Regions from separate parts of the Homo sapiens genome. Here region 1 is linked to region 2. The links are contacts of gene promoters, found by promoter capture Hi-C in blood cells and fetal thymus (Javierre and others, 2016). All regions are on one chromosome and are shown on one strand. Each heading gives the region's core, a stretch centred on a gene start or on the middle of the fragment in contact. The rest is flanking DNA. Distances are from core to core; before and after follow the strand shown. Region 1 overlaps CILK1 (ciliogenesis associated kinase 1). Region 2 holds the start of GSTA3 (glutathione S-transferase alpha 3).

Region 1 (2,966 bases), core at 95-2,594, 150 kb after region 2:
CATGGGACTTGCTCTAAGGTGGTTTCTTCCTCTAAAGCTGTGTGATTCTGTGACTCTGTATCAGGAATTGAGCTAGCATTTGTCTAAGAAAAAAAAAAGGATAAATGTTTCTGCTTTTTGCATCACATGAACAAAGGTTAGCGGAGAAGACAGTGCCACCGAAGGACCCTGTATGCTACACACCTTTCTTTCAAGAGATGCACAAGTGCCCCAGTGCCTCAGCCAGGCCCCAGTAAACATTAAACATCGATTCCTTCTCTTTCGAGCTCACATGTCACCTCTTCCAAGCCTCCTGCCCCAACCTACACATATAGACCCGAGAATGGTCCTCTCCCTTGATGCCATAGTGCCTTGTCCTCACCTCACTGCCAGCCCCTTCCCCGTGGCAATGACCTGCAGGTGTACCCTCTGCTTCAGCCTCGACACTCTCCAAGACTGCTTCATCTTTGTCTTCTCACTCCACTTGCAGTAGCAAGTCCTCAAAGATTGTTTGAAGGGCCCAAATGTGAGTTTTAGTCTTTGCTATTATTTTCTGTACCACCTTGGCTAAGTACCTCAAAATTCTCAGTGCTTCTATTTTGTCATACACAAAACAAAGATAAACTGTTGGGCCCAACTAAAAGTTCTGAAGTTCTGAAGTGGAAGAACAGTGAATACCACAGAATAGCTGGGGCAGGCAGGCAGCCTGGGCCCTCCCACAACAATGCCAAGATGACTGAGTCTCAGAGGATCACAGAAAGTCCCCCTCCATGCGGTCAGATCAGGCCTTTGGCCTTTGGGTAAGGCTGTACTCAACTACCAAAGAAAGACAGCTTTATCTCTCTTTCAAAGAGTTCCAGCAAACCTTTGAAGTCAATGTTATGATGTTCCTGGCTAGGTGACATTGGGGAAAAGCTTCCTGTGATTTGCCCCAATTCCCTCCCCTCAGCGTCAATCCTCGGTGGAGGCAAAGAACATTTGCTCATGGCCAGCAGCTCACATCAGGTGCCTTGCTCATTCACAGCCTAAAAAATGGAGGCGAGGGGCAGGGAAAATTGTAGTTCATTCTTTATTTTGAAACCTTAATCAATGAATTAATGCCATCATTACACATTTTCTAAGACAGGAGACAAAAAGTTACAGCAAACTTGGGGTTCTCTGGGAGTTGTGGTTTACCAGGCCCACTGACACCATTCAGTTCCTTAGAAGGAGCTTGTCTCCCTTTGCATTAATTATCTTACATTGAAAAGATTCTGTTACTTTCATTTATCCTCCTAGGAAAAGTGGATTATATGCAAAATCATTAGATGACCCTTCTCATGGTAATTCTGAGTTCCATTTTACCTTTACAGGTTTATAATTAGACTTCGTATTCTAGGTTTGAATGTGTCCTAACTTTACAAAAGTCAGTGAATACTGTTAATTTCTTTTAAAAAGGTACTAGAAATAGTATATCCGGGTTTATGTTTTTCTCCTGGACCTAATTCTTCTGCCTCTGTACATTTTAGCAAGCAAACCTTTTAAGCATTTTGCCTCTTGGACTACTGCTTTTTTTCTGCATAAGGAATAGCAGTTACAAAGCCAAAAGGACCTTCTTTACATGGATCTTGCTTTGTCTTTACCTTGACAGAGGAGTGAATTAAAGATGCATTCAGCTATTGCATCAACTGGATGTTAACAAGAGAAGATAATCCGTTACATGATGTGCCTTCTTCTGTGCCCCAGAAACTTCTTCATACCTTTACCATCCCTCTCCTCTTTCAATCCCAGCTTCTGAAAAAAGAACTCGTCCTGCACTAGGTCCTTAATCCCATGAGAAGCTTCCATAACTCCCTGTCGCTTCTCTTACAATATAAAAGGTGCTCACGCCTTGAACCTTAAAAAAGTTCTTCAATCACTTGCAGATGATTTTTAAACTAGGACACATAGTTGGCTTTGGTGGACTGTAAAGAACTGAAGTAAAGGCGAAATGTTAAAAAAAATAAAAAATAAAAAAACAGCCAGAAAAACAAACCTTTACCCTGCCATGTGTGAAACTGTAGATGAGCTAGAACGAGAGTCCCCAGCTTAATGAAAACTGCCGAGGGTGGCAATAGTCCTGCTTGCCTGTGTTTCAGGGGTGGGCAAGATAAGGGATAGTGAAGATAGGGGAGTGACTAAGAGCATATCACAAGTTCATGTAGATAGTAACTTTCATGATACTGGCAAATAAGTAGCTGGACGTTACACAATAATACTTTACCTTTCTGGTTCTAACGCATTATCTTTTACGGTAGTTACAAGGACAGCCACATGTTATCAGTATTTATATGCTATTACAACACATTTGACTAAGGAGCTGATCTCAGTGTAAGATGCTTTGCTAGCATGTATACAAAAAATCAAAATGAATTAAAGGAAGTAAAGGCTTAATGTAAAAATAAAATAGGGCAGGGATAAGCACGTTTTTTCTGTGAAGGGTCAGTAAACAGGATAGGCTTTGCAGGCTCTCCATCTCCGTCACAACTCCACTCTGCCATTGTAGCATGAAAGCAGTCAAAGACAATATGTAAATACATGGGCATGGCTGTGTTCCAGTACAAATTTATTTACAAAAACAGGCAGCAGGAAGGACTGGCACACAAGCCATAGTTTGTCAAGCCCTGAAGATGAGGAAATCCCCCAAATAAGCAGAAGCACTTTAGTACTCTCCATAGAGCCCTCACTTACCCCTAGGTTACAGGGCTACATACAAGCTGTGTTTAACCTTAGAATATAAGCTCTGTGAGGTCAGAAACGTTGCAATATTCACAACTGTATTCCCAGTACTCAGTTCCCAGAGAACTGGCATAGTTGGCACAAGTACGGACTCACAATAAAGACATGTTCAATGAATTAACTAATGAATGAACAACTTATGGAGCTTTAAAAGGCAATCCTGACCATAGATGATTTTCCTATACTACCACGTCCACCCTCACTGTCATCCCGTCACGCCCCACTTCTTT
Region 2 (2,890 bases), core at 189-2,688:
ACTTATAATCCCAGCACTTCGGAAGGCTGAGGAGGGAAGATTGCTTGAGCTCAGGAGTTCAGGACTGGCCTGGGCAATTAAATAAAGTCTCTATTTAAAAAAAAAATTAGCCAGGATTGGTGTCCCACACCTGTAGTCCCAGATACCCAGGAGGCTGAGGCAGGAAGATCACTTGAGCCCAAGATGTTAAGGCTGCAGTGAAACATGGCCACATCACTGCATTCCAGCCTGGGTGACAGAATGAGACTGTCTCAAAACAAACAAAAAGCATGAAAAAAGCCAAGCTAGGATTATGGCAATAAAATAACCAATCCTAATTATGAAACCCACCAATCTGCTGTTTAAAAAGAATTATCAAAGCAACCAAACTCTCCCACATAGTAGAAACATCGTGACTACACAAAAAATATTTTTTTTTAATTGGATAAGTGCTTTGGCAGGGTAGCCCAGGGTAATATTTCATTTGGCAAATAGAAAGAACTTGCATATAGAAGGAATGTGCATGTTCTGTTGGACAGGGAATATAACAGCTTAAGAGGGGGTTATTATTATTCTTAGATCTACTTGCCTACTACCCTAAAAGTCCTATATATTTAGATTCACTTGCAATTTTGAGACTTTAAACCCTGCTCACCCTTTGGTCCCAGATACTTCGAACAAGAAGGAGGAGGAGGAAGAAGAGGCAGAAGAGGAAAAAGAGGAGGAGGAAGAAGAAAGAGGGCAAAGAGAACAAAGAGAAGGAGGGAAGAAGGAGGAGAAGAAGAAGGAAAAATAGCATGCTGCTTGGTGCTCAATCACAAAGTCACTTATATAAGCAGTAAACTAATCTGTGTAAAATCAATGATGGAAGTGTAAATTTAGATCCTGATTGTCAAGCATTGGTGATTGGTTTCCCATTTGGAAGTGCCAGCTCTAGAGGAATACGACCATCCAGATGTATTTTCTTTTCATTGATCAAGTGGTGCTCCCAAATGTGTGACCCTGCCAGCTTTAAATCTAGTATAATTGTGTGTTGACTCCTGTGAATCACAGGAATGAATCACACGAATACATGTTTTTAATAAACAGCTTTTCCATAAGCAACCTTTGGCATGTGGCCTGGCACTGATGTGGTTGTATTTTCAGATTGCCCACAATGATACCACTCTTACTTTTCTCATATCATCAAATTCTTTGCCCTTGTTTTCTAAATTGTTGAATATTATTTTTCTTTACCGACCTGTCCTTCAGGAACTAACAAACAATGCTTAAATTGTCTCCTAAGCACACAGAAAAACAGCAAGAACATAAAGTACTCACACAAACTAACACATTTAAATTTGTTTTTCTTAGTGAAGTAGACATGAGAACATTTATGAAGATGTTTAAGGTCAATACTAACTTGAGTAAAGTCTAGCCGGTCTCCGCTCAGCTTCTCAAGGCCACCTCCTGATGTGTATGTTAGCTGTTTTAATACTATGACAACTCCTGCCTTCTGAAGGGGGTGGAGTCTAGTTGGGAGCAGCCACTCCCACACCACTTTAGTCTCCAGAGTTCCATGATCTGCTAGGAAGAAAATGACAGCAATTAATTTCAAGGCTATCCATAAATGCACAAAAAGATTTCATATCTATTTGGCTGCCTCAGAAGGTCACTGGGGACCAAGTATCCTGTGAACACTGCTTAAGGAGGATCTTGTTAAATAGGCTGCAGATTTATGACAGATGAGAAAACATTGTGGGGAGAGGAGGAAAGTGTCATAGGAGAGTCATAGGAGATGTCAGGAAAGGGGACTTGATAAAGAGCATAGGGAGATTGCCTTCTAAATTTGTTTAAAAAGACTAAATTACAAATAATGTCACAAAATTTTATAGGCCCAAAGAATCTGGCTGAGTTGTCCTTGCCCTGGGCAGACAAAAGACCTCAGCTGCATTCCCCGAGGTCATTTGCAGATTTTTCTCTGTGACTTACCAGTTAGCCTTTCTCCCTAGCCCAAGGCTCTGCATGCTGTTTCTCCTATTTGGAGCACTCTTTTCTCCCCTGCTCCAAGGCATCCTGTGCTTCCTCTATCACATCACTCTTTCTACATTCCGTGCATCATGTCTGCTTTCCCCCTGTTGAGTATGAGCTCCTTGAGGCAGGGCCTCAAGTCCTGGTGGTTAACCAAGTCCCCGTGGCTAACCACAGTGCCTGGACATAGAAAGGGCTTAATACACGTATATGTAATTTCTACTTTTCTAAAGGAAATTGTCTGATATACATAAATCTGGAAAGAACACTACAAAGCCTTGATGTACCCATCACCTTGCTTCAAAAATTATTGACAATATTTGAAGCAAATCTCAGACTTAGTTTTTTTCCTCTATAATCTAATCTGTATCTTTTAAACTTGTGGGTGGGGGAGTTATTTATGTAACAGAAAAATTGCAAAACTAGTACAAGTTTCCCAAATACCCCTCACCCAGCATCCGCTAATGTTAACATCTTATGTAACCATAGTACAATGATTGAATCCAGGAATTTAATGTTGATACACTATTGACTAAACTCCAGGCCTTACTTGAATTTCACCAGTTTTTCAATCAGTATCTTTTTTCTAACCCAGGATCCCATCCAGGACCCCAGCACTGCATTTCGTTGTCACATCTCCTTAGTTACCTCCAAACTATGGCAGTTCCTCAGTCTTTTCTTGTCTTTCATGATGGTGGCATTTTTGAAGAGTAATGGTCAATTATTTTGTGGAATGTACCTCAATTTGGGTCTATCTGATGTTTTCTCATGACTCGATTGACGACATACATTTTTTGCAAAATGTCACAGCAGTTGTTCCAGTCTCAGCTGATCATTTCCACCCATAATTTCATATCCGAGACATGGTATGTCTTATTAATTTTGATCTTAACCTTAATCC

Evidence for each region. The method cuts DNA at HindIII sites, captures the fragments that hold promoters and counts their contacts. A CHiCAGO score of 5 or more calls a contact.
Region 1: a contact is called between a fragment that was not itself captured here and the fragment with the promoter of GSTA3 in region 2, in 2 of 17 cell types (total CD8 T cells and M2 macrophages). The highest score is 6.0, in total CD8 T cells.

The regions. Positions count from the first base shown.
Region 1 is chr6:53,053,909-53,056,874 of GRCh38, forward strand. All of the region lies in intron 1 of CILK1 (ciliogenesis associated kinase 1), which reads right to left. Among named protein-coding and RNA genes, the nearest start is that of CILK1, 6.4 kb to the right of the region's middle. The HindIII fragment of the contact is 905 bases long and covers 893-1,797 here.
Region 2 is chr6:52,908,260-52,911,149 of GRCh38, forward strand. GSTA3 (glutathione S-transferase alpha 3) reads right to left here and starts at 1,439. Exons shown (of 7, transcript NM_000847.5): 1 at 1,382-1,439. RefSeq lists enhancers at 943-1,635, 1,636-2,329. The HindIII fragment of the contact is 5,455 bases long and covers 1-2,890 here.